Regions from separate parts of the Homo sapiens genome. Here regions 1 and 3 are each linked to region 2. Evidence: promoter capture Hi-C in 16 types of primary human blood cells and fetal thymus (Javierre and others, 2016). All regions are on one chromosome and are shown on one strand. The core of a region is centred on a gene start or on the middle of the fragment in contact, and the rest is flanking DNA. Distances in the headings are between cores, read along the strand shown. Region 1 holds the start of ZNF81 (zinc finger protein 81). Region 2 holds the start of PORCN (porcupine O-acyltransferase). Region 3 holds the start of FOXP3 (forkhead box P3).

Evidence for each region. The method cuts DNA at HindIII sites, captures the fragments that hold promoters and counts their contacts. A CHiCAGO score of 5 or more calls a contact.
Region 1: a contact is called between the fragment with the promoter of ZNF81 here and the fragment with the promoter of PORCN in region 2, in 2 of 17 cell types (M0 macrophages and neutrophils). The highest score is 5.5, in M0 macrophages.
Region 3: a contact is called between the fragment with the promoter of FOXP3 here and the fragment with the promoter of PORCN in region 2, in 2 of 17 cell types (activated CD4 T cells and neutrophils). The highest score is 7.2, in activated CD4 T cells.

Annotation. Positions count from the first base shown.
Region 1 is chrX:47,834,281-47,839,350 of GRCh38, reverse strand. ZNF81 (zinc finger protein 81) reads right to left here and starts at 2,449. Exons shown (of 5, transcript NM_007137.5): 1 at 2,364-2,449. RefSeq lists an enhancer at 2,322-2,701. The HindIII fragment of the contact is 3,931 bases long and covers 89-4,019 here.
Region 2 is chrX:48,505,745-48,510,725 of GRCh38, reverse strand. PORCN (porcupine O-acyltransferase) reads right to left here and starts at 1,734. Exons shown (of 15, transcript NM_203475.3): 1 at 1,623-1,734; 2 at 770-942. The coding sequence starts at 905. It overlaps PORCN-DT (PORCN divergent transcript), which reads left to right and starts at 1,887. Exons shown (of 2, transcript NR_135596.1): 1 at 1,887-2,007; 2 at 3,671-4,200. RefSeq lists a silencer at 1,508-1,907. The HindIII fragment of the contact is 7,257 bases long and covers 1-4,981 here.
Region 3 is chrX:49,261,167-49,265,996 of GRCh38, reverse strand. It overlaps FOXP3 (forkhead box P3), which reads left to right and starts at 1,287. Exons shown (of 12, transcript NM_014009.4): 1 at 1,287-1,336. The HindIII fragment of the contact is 2,410 bases long and covers 4-2,413 here.

The DNA of each region.
Region 1 (5,070 bases), core at 1,200-3,699, 670 kb after region 2:
GCTTAACCTGTAGTCTAAAATGATATTAAATAGATAATCTGAATAGTTACATAACTATTACAGACATTGAAGCCATGATCAAAAAGCTTCCAAATGGAAGTTTCCAGGCCCAGATGGCTTCACTGGAGAAGTCTACCAAATATTTAAATATTTAAATAAAAATTAGTACTTATTCTACACAGTCTCTTCCAGAAAACAGAAGAGGAGGAAATAGTCCCCAACTCATTCAATGAGGCCAGTATTACCCTAATACTAAAACCAGACAAAGCCAAGAGCAGTGGCTAACACCTGTAATCCCAGCACTTTGAGAGGCTGAGGCAGGAGGACTATTTGAGCCCAGGAGATTGAGACCAGCCTGGGCAACATAGTGAGACCCGGTTTACAAAAAATAATAAAATTAGTTGGGTGTGGTGGCGTGTGCCTGGAGTCCCAGCTACTCAGGAGGCTGAGGTGGAAGAATCACTTGAGGCTGGGAGGTCAAGGCTGCAGTAAGCCATGGTCACACCACTGCATTCCAGCCTGAGGAACAGAGTGAGAGCCTGTCTCAAAAATAAAAAATAAAACCAGACAAAGATAGTATAAAAAAGAAAACTATAGACAAATATTTCCCATGAACTTAGATGCAAAAATCCTCAAAAAAGCATTAGCTAATCAATTCCTTCAATATATCCAAAGAATTATACATCACAACCAAGTAGGGTTTATTCCAGGAATGTAAGACTAGTTCAATATTCAAAAATCAATCAGCATAACCCTCCATACTGACAAGCTAAAAAAGAAAAAAAATCACAAGATCATCAAAATTCAGAGTGTTGATGAAATTCAACACCCATTCACGATAAAAACTACTTTTGAAATTAAAAATAGAGGGGAACTTCCTCAACCAAAAAAGAGGGTCCAAAAAAAGAAAGCCCTACAGCTAAAATCATACTTAATGGTAAAAGGTTGAATATTTTCCCCCTAAGACTGAAAACAATGCAAAGATGTCCACTCTCTTATTCAACATAGTACTGGAACTTCTTGCCAGTGTAATAAGGGAAGAAAAGCAGAGGTATAAAGATTGGAAAGAAAGAAATAAAACTATCCCTGTTTGTATATGACATGATTGCTCATGCAGAAAATCCAAGGAATCTGCCAAAAAAGGTGTAAAACCTAATAATTGAGCTCAGCAAGATTGCAGGATACAAGACCAACAGACAAAACTCAATTGTATTCCTATATATAAGCAACAATTTAAAAGATAACACCATTTATGACCACTCCAAAACAATTAAATACTTAGGTATAAATTGAATAAGACATGTACAGAACTTGGGTGATGAAAATTAAAATACACCATTTATAGAAATTTTAAAAGATCTAAATAAATAGAGAGACATACTATGTATATGGATTGGAAGACTTGGCACAGTTAAGACTTAACTTCTTCCCGAGTTGGTATACAGGTTTAATGCAATTCCTATCAAAATCCAAGCAAGATGCTTTGTAGATAGAGACAAGATTTTCTAAAATGCATATAGGAAAGGCAAGGGAACCAGAGGCATTAAAACAATTTTGAAAAAGAATAAAGTGAGAGGAATCACTCTATCCAATTCAAGACAGCAAGGTAGTACTGGCAGAGGGATAGACACATAGACAATGAACTGAATAGCAAACCCAGAAAGAGCCCACACACAAGTATGGCCAACTTATTTTTGACAATGGTGAAAGACAAGTCAATGGAGGAAAGATAGTCTTTTCAACAAATGGTGCTTCAGTCTGGACATCCATAAGCAAATTAATGCACCTCGACCTAAGTCTCATACTTTATACAAAAAGTAACTCACAGAGGATCACAGACAGCAGTAAGGAGACACAGACAAATCACCATCACAGTGGAGAATTTCTCTCTCCTCGAAGTAATAGAAGAAGCAGACAAAAAAGGATAGATTTTCTATGACACAATTGACGACTAAATAATTAAATATTATTTTCAAGTTATATATAGAACGTTTCTAAAAATTCACCACGGACTAGGCCATAAGTCTCCTTATATTTCAAGGAATGAGCTTCACGTAGATATTTTTCTAACACAGAAAACTAAGGTTAGAGATCCATTACAGAGATAAACTTTTGCACACTGAAACCCCACTTTTGAATAACTCCCGGGTAAAAGACAAATGAATACAAGTTAACACTCTTAAAAAACATAATGCTCCAAACCCAATGGGGCTTAGAATGAACTTTAAGACCTTAACGGTGATGTTAGAAAAGAGAAAAGCCTGCAAAATGATGAGTGAATCATCCAACTCAAGTTAGATAAACGATTCCATCACTGGCCACACAGAATCGCCCAGCACTCACCCTCCCCGGCCCCCCATCACCTCCACATCCCTGGGCACTGAACGTCGAATCCTCCTGACAACTATCAAACCCCGGCTGAGAACCGGCGAGAACCGCAGCCGCTTCCGGTCACTACCCCTAGCACCGCCCTTTTTCGGGGTTTGGGACTTCACATGAATGAGGGAAGCGGAGGTTCCGCGCGTGCGCAAAACCACCTTTGAAGCTGCTGTTAGCCAGGAGTCAACATGGAGAAGTTACGGAAGTGGGTGCTTTGGGACGTTCGGTACCCCTCGGCGGCGTGGTCAGGTGGGGAACATGGCCGCGCCCACGTCGCGCTTCCCCATGGGATACACCATGTTGGAGGAGTGTCCATCCGTATTGAGGATGAGGACACCTCTGAACTCACAGAGCAGGCTGTGAGTTTAGAGCTGTCTGCTCTAAACTCAGGTGGAGCTGTCCCGCTGGTGGCAGGGAGCACGGGTGGGGACGTTTCTCTGGGCGGGCTAACTGGAGGAGGGGGTCTTTGGACCTGTAGTCTATGGATCTGTGTGATACCGCTCCGAGAAACTGAAGGGCCTCTTGGAAAGAATCAGGGGCGGCCGCGGCTATCTCCTGGCAGATACCACAGGATGAGAAGCGGGGAGATGTCAGGCTGGTTACAGGCTTCTCCTAGGACATACCACAAGGGGAGGAGGAGGAGGAGAAATCATGGTTATGCAAGCCCTCCTAGGATATGCCATGAGGTGGGAAAAAGGGAGAACTCAGAGTGCTGGGTTCCCCTCCTGCTGTGCCTGTGGGGCTTGGATGCGAGGTTTGAATGCTGCAGCAATTTACCTTATCTCCCACTCCATCTACCCCAGCTAAAAAGGGACTACGTAGTACCAATACTAATAATTTTTAATGTGTCCTTAGTCCAATGCAATATGTCAATAAAAATCTTTAGGAAACTTTATTATTTTTATTTCCTCATGAAGTAAAATATATGTGGTCATGGTGCCCTTACTTTGGAAATGTAGCTTTAATACAAGGCTCTGCTTCTACCCTTCAACCAGTTTGCTGCTCCATATCACCTCCAATGTGTAAATTCTGGAGATGCCCCTGCCCTCTGGGAGATGTCACTGGAGCAGAAGGGGAAGAAGTCGTGCAGTCCTTCACCTAAGAATGCCTATTCATCCTTCAAAATCAAGTTCAAATATCTCCTCCTCCAGAGAATCCTGACAGAGCTAGAAGCCTGTGTGCCCTCCTGAAAGCCTTTCTGAATCCTCAGGTGAAAAAAATATTTTGAGAGGACCTGGTGTAGGCTGAAGTGTGGACTTGCTGGGGGCTCTCAATCCAGTCTTATCCCCTCTGGCCCTCGGTTTAACAATCTCGAAGGTTAGAGGTGTCCTAGTCCAATTAGCCTCAAACTAATTTTTAGTCTGACAGATCCAGCAATCAATAAGGGAGACTGCACACCAGGGGCACCATGGGCAGCTCACTAAGCAAAGGAAAAGATAGAGTTCTTATAGGATTTTGAGGAATAGTGGAGTTCAGATGAAATTAAATGAAGCAGTGTTTTAGTGGGCTCAAAGGAAAGCAGGGCTGTATGTAAAGGGTAATTGTCAGGTCTGGACTGTGAAGTGAACCCAGAGTGCTGTTTCCTTGGAAACAATTTAGATGTAGAATTTTGTGTCCCCAGATAACTCTTGCCTAAAGCTTTGCACCTGGGTTGAAAATTGAATCTTGCTTCTCTGTCTGGAAGTGACTTAGAATCTCCCATGAGAATCAGATGTTTCCCTCTTACTGATATCATTTCAAACAGCAAAGTTTCTGATAGTCTATGATTGTAGAGAACAAAGTTTCTCATTGACCAAGAAAGCAATAGGCACTTAAAGTAGGGGTTCTTTATGGCATTACAACTGCAGCCTGTCCTTAGAAGAAATAATGTTTCCTGTGAATTTTGCATTTGGCTTTATATGTGTCTGTTCTTCCATCCTGATGAATAGCAAGGCAGATTTTTATAGTCCGATTTTCATTTTAATTTTTTTAGAGAGTTGGTATCTTTGTCCATTTTCTGCTACTGTAACAGAATATCACAGATTGGGTAATTTATAAAGAAAATAAGCTTATTTGGCTCATAGTTCTGGAGATTGGGAAGTCCAACTTGGTGCCAGCATCTGGTGAGGGCCTTATTGCTGCATTATTCCATGGCAGAGGACAAGAGGGCAAGCAAGTGTATGAACAAAGAGAAAGCACAAGGGACTGGGCTCACTTTATAACAACCCACTCTTGAGGTGACTAACCCATTCCCTCAGTGACAGCATTAATCAGTTTATGAGAATGGAGCCTCCATGACCTATTCACTTTTTAAAGGCCCCACCTCCTAATACTGTTACAATGGCAATTTCAATATGAGTTTCAGAGGAGACAAACATTTGAACCATAGCAGTTGAACTTTGATTATCCCAGCTTGTCATTCTGCCCCTGCATCCCTGGTCTGGGCAAATGTTTGTTGAATGAATAAATGAAAGAAGAATGGAATCAGTGGAAGCATATTTGGCATGCATACACTTCTAATAGAGTGCCAAGAATCACTGTTAGTGTTCTTGGATGTCATAATAGTACCAAAAAAAAAAAAAAAAGAAAGTTCTGTTAGACCACTTCAGAGAAGAAGGAGATATAGAGCCAGCAAACATATAAAGAGATGTTCAAAGTCATTTGTGATAAGGGAAATACAAATCAAGACATGATAAAAATGACATTTTATAC
Region 2 (4,981 bases), core at 485-2,984:
GTGGCAAGATGTTGACAGAGAATCTGGTGATGCATACGTGGGTGCTCACTGTACTATTTTTTCAACATTTCAGTAGCTTTGAAAAATTTCAAAATAATAAACCTGGGAAAAAATAGAACATCCATTTAAAATTAAAAAAGAAAGAAAGAAAAAAGAAAGTGTAGAACCTTCGGATCTCAGATTTCCAGAAATCTCCGCCTCCTATAGGAATCTTGGGGACTTGGAATCTTTCATTAAGATACAGGCCTGCTATGACTGTGGAAACATTTCAGAATCCTAGAATCCAGAAATCGCATCATGCCCTGATTATAGAAATCCACAATGCCAACATTTTAGAAGTCTAGAATGTGAGAATTTCAAATTGTCAGAATCTCCAAACGCTGTAATCATGGTACTTTGGGATTCCATAACCCTGTGACATCAGCATGCCAATGTCTTATAACCTTGGGATGTAGACATTTCAGAATCCCAAGATCCAAGAATCTCAGCTTTCTGGAATCCCAGAACTCAGGAATACTGAAGGGCATGGCTTGGCATGGCAGGATGTGGCTCGGTGTGGCATGGCATGGGGTGGCTGGCATAGTAGGATGTGGTATGGTGGAATGGGGTTTGGCCTGGTGGGATGTGGTGGGGCTGAACATGTTGGGGTCCAGCTTGGACATGCTAGGGCCTGGCAGGATGTGACAGGGTAAGGTGTGGCTCGATATGGATGAATGTGGGAGGTCTGATATGGCCTGGCATGGTGGCACACGGTATGGCAGGCACTTACCGAGCCTCCAGAGGAGGCGGCAGGCGAGGCAGATGGCAAGGAGCAGCCAGATCTGGTCAAGGCCCTGCTGGGCAGTAGGCAGGAGACAGCCTTGCAGTAGCTGCTGGAAAAATTCCTGGCGGCTAAAGGTGGCCATTGCAGACCCCCACGGATGGATGGCCAGATGGATAGATCTGTCAAAGCAGGGACACAGAGGGAGCGGGTGTCCGTGGGGCAGACCTCGCTTAAAGGATGCACTCTGGCACTCACATTTCAGTTTGGGGCTGCCCAGCCCATGTAGAGGCACGGTACTGGAGGACTGGGGGAAGGCGTGAGAAGTCAGGTACATCAGACTGAGCCACCAACTGTGTGCATGTGGGTGTTCGGCATGCACACGCACAGCCTGTGACCTGGAGTGAATGAAGGACCTCTGTCTCTCCAGTGCTGTGAACAGTCCAGTCCGATGGTGATGGGATGGCATACATTTCAGGCCCATATATCAAATGGGGCGGGCGACGGGAAGGGGAATCCCTGGTTTCCAAGGTAGAGTCGCTCTGAGTGGAGGGCAGAGAGGGGGATTCTGTGACACTTGGGGGCCGTGTGCATCTCTCCTTGTATGGATGCGGCGGCACGGGGAGGGGGGGTGTCCTGTATCCTCCGCGCCCCCCATCTCATCCCCACCCGGCGAGAGGCCGCCAACAAAGTCCTGCCCAGGTCCGGGGGCTGCAAGGAGGTGGTGGTAGGAGACATAGCCTGAGGGAGAGTCGGAAAGGTGATGGGGAGGGGGTCCTAGCACTCGCGCTACAGATCCGCCTGGGGAGGCCGGCCCAGGGATGGGAGCTGGGGAGCCGCGTGCGCACTACTGGCGACCTACCTGGCAGGAAAGAAGCCGTGGTCCTGGGGACCGAGGACGCGCTGCCGCCGCCGCTGCCTCCTCCGGGCAGCCTCCCCCGCAGGCCGCAAGGCCGGGACCAGCAGCGGCTCCCAGAGCGGCGCGGCGAGCGGGCCCTTTAAATCCCGGGGCGGCCCGGCCGCCGGCTCGGCCAATGGGAGAGCAGGAGGGGGGCGGGGACGGGGACGCGGAGGAGGGGAGCAGGAGGATTGAGGGGAGACCGGCGCGGGGGGACGTCGGCGCGCAGGACGTTCACGCCCGCACCTTTCCGGCCTGTGGCGGTTTCAGCCCCAGACCGTCTGCCTCCGGAGGATTTCTGGCCATCCAAGAACAAACTTCCGAATCTCCAAATTTCCAAGCCTTGGAAGTGAGAAGGGAAAGATGGGGGAGGGAGGAGGGAAGCCGCTGCACCCCCAAATAGTCACCCGCGCACGTCCTCTAAATACCGTGGTGTCCCCGTTTCACAGATGGGAAAACAAACCGAGATCTCTCCTTCCCCAACCTTTGAGAGAACCGAAGTAACTCCCAACCCTCCCACCTCCTGGGACCGGCCAGGAACATTTATAAGTAATGACTGTGTCACCTAGGAACACAAATTAGGCGCCTGTGCTTCCCCTGGGGACGAGCTGTGAGCACTTGGCGTGTCGTCGTTGAGAAGTGATTTGCATGCTTAATTCCCCAGCAGACTCTTTGCTTCGAAGGTGACCCCAGCGACTAGTAAATGTTCTCTGTGAACTAGAGGGAGGCTAGTACCGAGCACTTAAAAGGGGGGCATTTATAAAGCTCTTAAGGGCCAGGCTCGGTGGCTCACGCCTATAAACCCAGCACTTCGGGAGGCCAAGGGTAGGAGGATAGCTTGAGGTCAGGAGTTCGAGACCAGCCTGGCCAACATGGCGAAACCCCGTCTCTACTAAAAATACAAAAATTAGCCAGGCGTGGTGGCGCACGCTTGTAATCCCAGCTACTCGGGAGGTTAAAGCAGGAGAATCAGGAGGCAGAGGTTGCAGTGAGCCAAGATCGCGTCATTGTGGGCTACAAGAGCGAAACTCCGTCTCAAAATAAATAAATAAAGACTGGGCGTGGTGGCTCACACCTGTAACCCAGCACTTTGGAAGGCCGAGGCGGATGGATCACCTGAGGTCATGAGTTTGAGACCAGGCTGGCCAATATGGCGAAACCCTGTCTCTACTAAAAATACAAAAAATTTAGCTGGGCGCCTGTAATCCCAGCTACTCCGGAGGCTGAGGCAGGAGAATCACTTGAGCCCAGGAGACGGAGGTTGCAGTGAGCCGAGATCACGCCATTGCACTCCAGCCTGGGTGACAAGAGCAAAACTCCTTCTCCAAAATAAATAAATAAATAAACAAGAGCGAAACTCCTTCTCTAAATAAATAAATAAATAAAATAAAAAAGAAAGCGCTTACACTGGCCCCATCCGCACCTCTATCTGCACCAACACTAAAGATTTATGTAGCACCCGCCTTCTACCTACCCTACTGCTGCAGTTTCTAGGCATTCCCCTTTGTACCTAGGCTGATGAAGGGCCTATTTTTCCAAAAGAGCACTTACTGGGCGCTTACTGCACTACATGCTTAGCTGTGACGTGGAAGGGAGAAGGAAGCCCAGGTCAAACTGGACGCCACCCTGACCTGGGCAGCCAACTGAAACAGATTTTAATCAGATTAACAATGGCCTGTATGGAGCTGGGCAAGTCATGTTCACTCACCCGTCTCCATTGTCCTTTTCTGTTAAACAAAAGAGTGGGCTTGGCAGGTTTTTGCTGGGAAACACCAATGGTAATTGAAGAGAAATGTATATTTTCTCTCTATTTTAACATGAAGTTAAATGGAGTTCTAGCTCATAAATTAGTATTCATGTATTACAAACAAAAAACATTTAATACGGTAAGAATATGTATATATAAGGAATAATAGCTTAGACCAGATGCACAAATATCAATTCTTTTCCTTAACAGCAGAATACAGGACATACATTTTATGAATTAAATTTCATTTTAATTTTTTTCTCAGTTGTCAAACCCACTCAAGTTGAGTCAACAATGACCCACAGCACCTACCAGAAATACTTCCCTCAATTGCAAGACTTGGCATTTAAAACTGGAAGATTCTTACCACATGTGCTCCTGGGCTTTGCGGACTTGATTGTTTCCATCTAGGCTTTTGACCTGTGTCACAAAGAAGTAGGATCTAGGTTTTAGGATATATAACGAACATCTACAAATCCGAAGAGGACAAACAATACACTTGGCAATAGACATTGGGTACAAATAGGTAATTCACAGCAGAAGAAACCTAAAATGGTCAATATGTATAATATATGAAAAGATAACCCAATCTCTTTACTGCTCAGGGAAATGTAAAATTAAAACAACAGTGAGATATAATACCATTTTACATCTACCAGATGTTGTGCTTCATATTTTTATCACTGGAGCTTAGTAGAGGGTGGACACTCAATAAATGTCTGTGGTCATTCTAGGTTGTGGTTTCTGGGGTGTTTTAGATGAGCTCTCCATAATTAAAGAGATACAAATTAAAAACAATGATATACTATTTTTCACTTATGGGACTGACAAAAATGCCAAGCCTTATAATGATAACATATTTGCTCTCTCTCTGTCTCTGTCCGTTTCTTTCTCCCCATGTATATACATATGTAATTTACATATATATAATTTTTCTGAATGATATACAGTGATTTTTCTGAATTATTTGTTAGTGGTTGCGGATATGACACCCTTTTAACTAAATACTTCAGTATGAATATCCTAAGAGCAAGGACTTTTTTTTCTTTTTTTACATTGCTACCAGCATAGTATGAGGTTTCCATTGCTCCACATCCTCACAAATACTTGTTATCTGACTTTTTGGTTCTAGCCACCCTGGTGGGCATGTCAATAGTGTCCTTGTATAGGAAAAGGGAATCATAGGGTCACAAGATACATTCTGTTATCAGGTTTTTTTAGTCTCCTCCAATGTGGAACAATGTCTCCATCTTCACTTAACTTTCATGATCTTGATGTTTTGGGAGAGCACAGACCAGTTCTTTGGAAGAATGTCCTTCAATTTGGGTTTATCTGATGTCTCCTCATGATTAGATTTGAATTCTGCATTTTTGGCAGGAATTCCACAGAAGTGACGCTGTGTTCTCAGCGTTATCAGGAGGCAGGAGGGTTCAGTTAGTCTCGAAATTGTTAGTATTAGCATTGATCTTTTGCTTAAAGTGGTCTTCTAGTTTTCACCAGTATAAATTTACTATTTTTCCCTTTGTAATTTTTTTTCTTTTTTTTTGGAGACAGGGTCTTGCCCTATTACGCAAGC
Region 3 (4,830 bases), core at 38-2,537, 760 kb before region 2:
GCTTGGGGATTTCAAAGCCCAGCACCAAAGAAAGCGGGACCCACACTCGCCAGCTCTGTGATCTTGGGCAAGTTGCTTGACTACTTATACCTCCGTTTCCCTCATCTGTATAACAGGAATACAATAATGATGAGATGGAGCTCAAGGGGCCATGGTGAGGATTGAACATGATCACTTGTGAGACATGTTCAGCACTGTATCTGACCCATGGAAAATTCAAGATAAACATCAGCTACTGAGATGATGGCGGATATTTGGAATCCTAAATCCTTGGAAACTGGGGCTTTTTGAAGTAAAAGACCCCAAAGGCTGAGGGCCTCAGAAGCATCAGGCCATGATGTTCCTGAAACAAGAGGGTCAGGGTCCCAATGGGCCTCTGGGGTTCATCGTGAGGATGGATGCATTAATATTGGGGACCTGCTAGGGACCTTCCCAGTGGGACAGTGGCTGGGTCAGGGCACTCAAGCCCTAAAACGTGATGAGGCGAGACTTTTCTCTCTTTCCTCATTCAGTAACTGTCAGTAGATTCTGGGAGCCAGGGATTCTCCGACTCTTCAAGTCCATGAATTTTAGGGGATGACAGTGGGCTCTCCGCTTTCTCCTCCATGAAGTAACTTACATGCCCCTCACCCTCTGTGGGAGGGGTGTTGCAGGGGGTGCAGAACTCCCCTCGCCGGGTAGTTCAAGCAATGGGGACCATATCAATTCCATCTATAGGGAAACTGAGGCCTGGAGTAGGGCGAGGCCTCTGGGAACCCAGCCCTATTCTGTCTCTTTCCCTGGCATTTCCCATCCACACATAGAGCTTCAGATTCTCTTTCTTTCCCCAGAGACCCTCAAATATCCTCTCACTCACAGAATGGTGTCTCTGCCTGCCTCGGGTTGGCCCTGTGATTTATTTTAGTTCTTTTCCCTTGTTTTTTTTTTTTCAAACTCTATACACTTTTGTTTTAAAAACTGTGGTTTCTCATGAGCCCTATTATCTCATTGATACCTCTCACCTCTGTGGTGAGGGGAAGAAATCATATTTTCAGATGACTCGTAAAGGGCAAAGAAAAAAACCCAAAATTTCAAAATTTCCGTTTAAGTCTCATAATCAAGAAAAGGAGAAACACAGAGAGAGAGAAAAAAAAAACTATGAGAACCCCTCCCCACCCCGTGATTATCAGCGCACACACTCATCGAAAAAAATTTGGATTATTAGAAGAGAGAGGTCTGCGGCTTCCACACCGTACAGCGTGGTTTTTCTTCTCGGTATAAAAGCAAAGTTGTTTTTGATACGTGACAGTTTCCCACAAGCCAGGCTGATCCTTTTCTGTCAGTCCACTTCACCAAGGTGAGTGTCCCTGCTCTCCCCTACCAGATGTGGGCCCCATTGGAGGAGATGGCAGGGAGGTAGGCACGGCGGGGGGGTCAGGGGCCCTCTGGTACAGTGGGATGTACCCAGCTACCGTGATTCCAGCCAGGTAAGGTCTTTAAAAAAATAATAGAATAAATGGCAGAAGACTTAAAGGTGAAGTACTTAATGCATGGGCAGGGGCAAAAATAAATGAATTCATCAATTGATACGTAGATGGATAGGATTTTTAAAATATGTCAGCTGCCAGTCTTTATGGATTTCAGAGCTTTGAACAACTTGAAATGCTGTCCAGGTGCAACTGAAAATTTCAACTGCATCTCTCTCATCTCTTTGTCTCTTAGCTCTTGATGCCTCTCATCCTTCTCTGTCTCTCTGCTCACCCTGTCTTGCTCTTTTACATGTTTCTCTGCCTCTCTTTCTCCCGCCATCTGTCTGTCGCTACACTCAGACTCTCTTTCCCCGCATCTCTCCTGGCCTCTGACCATCTCCCCTATCTCTGTCTCCTCCATCTTGACCACACTCCATCGATCTCCTTTCCTCCATCTCTCCCGCTCTCTTTTCTTGCCTTCCCCCACCTGCCTTCCCAGCCAGCATCCAGCCTAGAGCTTTGTACACAGCTGGCGTTTAATAATAGTAATGTCGCCGAGGACCTTTACATTTTATGAGAGTGAGCATCAGTTCTGTTCACCCTAGTAGCAGGAGGATTGCAAGGTGCCGGGGCAAGCTGAGCACTTAACTGAACTTTGCTTGTATCGCTTTAGAGGAGACCCTTGGGGCGGGGGGGCAGGGAGCACTTCACACCATTGTCAACCGTAGTTTAGCTGTGTGGACCTACCCCAGGACTGCATGTGTGTGACCAGAGTCCATATTCAGGAAGCAAACAGGTTGTTCAGGGCTGGGGTGAGCTCGATTCTGCAGGCTTAGCACAGCGTTTGGCACAAAGTAAGTGCTCACGAAGTGTTAGCTATTAGTATTTCTGTAACCAAATTAGAATCATGCTATATATTGGTTTTGTTCCTGCTTTATTCAATTAACAGTAGTGTTTTTGAAGCTTACTAAAAATTGTTTGAACACATGATCTTTCATGATGGACAAGACTGTCCTCACATCAGCATGAACTTTGATTGATTTGACCAAGTGCCGATTGTTGGACATTCCGGTTGTTTCTCGTTTTTTTCTATAAACATCCCTGACTGCTTCCTTGGATTCCTGAAAAGGGAGTTGCTGGGGCAAAGGGGGCGTGCATTTTTAAAGTTTATGACCCTCTCTGCTAATTCTCCTTCCAAAAGGTTGTCCTATTTTATGCTCCCTCTACTTAAGCTAACCCTAGGTGAGTATTATTATGTTTTAATTATTTCCCAACATGACAGGTAAGAAAAACACATTATCACATTGTTGAAATTTGCATCTTGTGATTACTTTTACTATTCATTGGCCATTCATGCTTTTTTTTTTTTTTTTTTGGTTGTCTGGTCATGTCCTTACTCCTAATAGGGTGTTCATCTTATTTTTCCCTTATTGATTTGCCACAGCTCTTTATTTGGAATGGTTATTAACCTTTCATCAGCCATTACATATATAGCAAATATTTTCCCCAATTCATCATTTGCTTTTTTTCTATTTGTTTATGGTGTTTTTTGTGATGCTTATGATGGTTTTATACAGTCAAATAGGTTAGTCTTTTTTTCTGTGGCTTCTGTCTCTGGTTTTGTGCTTAGAAAGTCCTTTCCTACTTGAAAATGAGATAAATGTTCACCTATGTTGGCTTCTAGTCTCTTTTATGGCTTCATTTTTTCCATTTACTATAGAGGTTAAGAGTGTGGGTACTGGAGCCAGACTGTCTGGGACAAACCCAGCGTCACCCCAAGCCCTATGTGTGATTTTTAGCCAGGCACTTAACCTCTCCATACCTCCATTTCCTCATATGTACTGCAATGGTTATAATAGTACCTTCCTCAGGAGTCTTTGTTTAGATTAAAATTTTTAACCACAGTAAATACTTAGCACAAGGCCTGACACACAATAAACCCAAGATCAGCATTAGGTGTTAAAACTTATATCTTGAATGGATCTGGGCATTTTAGGGTATATGATGATGGTGACATTTCAAACTGGGCAGGGAGGGGTTGTTGGGATAATGGACTGACTATTCACTCAATAACTTTATCTTCTCCCTAATTATCTCAGACACATTTGTTAAACCATACTCCATGGTCCTCCAGTTTGAAATGCCACATTCATCACAAATTCAGTTCTCTCCATATGTGGGTCCATGTCCAAGCTTTCTATTCTGTTCTCTTCCCCAGTATCTGTTCTTATACCAGGGCCACACTGTTTTGCTGATTGTTGCTTTGCAATACAATTCAATACCCAGCCATGGGTGTCCCTGGCACCTTGCCCTTCTTTATTCTTGATTATTTCAGGCAGCATCAGTTGAACCAGCCAGAGACCAGCAAATGTTCTTATTTGAGGCAATCCTCCTCTCGCACACATGCACTCTGGCTCTCCATGCATGTGTCCATTTCTCTCAATGTCTCTCACTATCTCTTGTTCTCTCTTGCTCGCTCTTTGTGTGTGTCTCTTTGTCTCTATGTATCCCTATCTCTCAGCCAGTCCCCTGGATAGAGGGGCAATTGTCAACTTGAAGCCCTGCAGACACCTAATGACTTAACCAGACAGCGTAGAAGGGCCCTGGCCCTTGTCTACTCCACGCCTCTCCGTGCTCAGTGTAGAAGGGCAAATTGAAGACCAGAGATCTCAGGGCCTCACCGAAATGCAGCGGCAGAGTTGAAATCCAAGCCTAGATCTCAGGACTCTAGGTGGGACCCTGGTTCTGGCTCTCTCCCCAACTGCAGGCCTCAGTTTACCCCTCAGCACCCAGAAGGGGGAAGGGGAACCTGGGCTACCATTCCCCCTTCTGCCTTCTCACACGTTGGACCCCAACTTCCCACAGGTTGGACGATCCACGATCACAGTGTGGGGCCCAGCCTCACAAGAGCTGGGCTAGGTGAGGCCCCGGACTCCATAGGTCAGGAGGCCTAGTTGGCCAGAGCGTGGTGATGATGGAGGCATGTCAGTCAGTCAGGCTGTGTGTCCCCAGAGCTGGTGCTGGTCCCCGAAAACCTTGATTGTGGGGCCCCTCTAGAGAGTCTGATGATGGGCTCTGTATTGGCGAAGGCTGAGGCTTTTCCAGCTCCCCCCATGAGGCCCAGACCAAAGGCACACCAGCCTCAACCTCCTCCTCCCCCTGTTGCCATCTCTGGCGGAGTGGCCATGTATTTGGGAACGTTGTTCCAGAGTGGACAGGGAGACTGAGGCCCTAGGGAGGCTGGCTCTGTTTCCAGGCCTGGTAGGCAAGAGGCCCTATGAAGCAGCAAGCTGCCTGACTTTCAGATGGTTCCAAGGAGTTTGGACACCAGGGACACTGGCCTACACATACTGAGACTTTGGGACCGTAGACCCCACAGTCT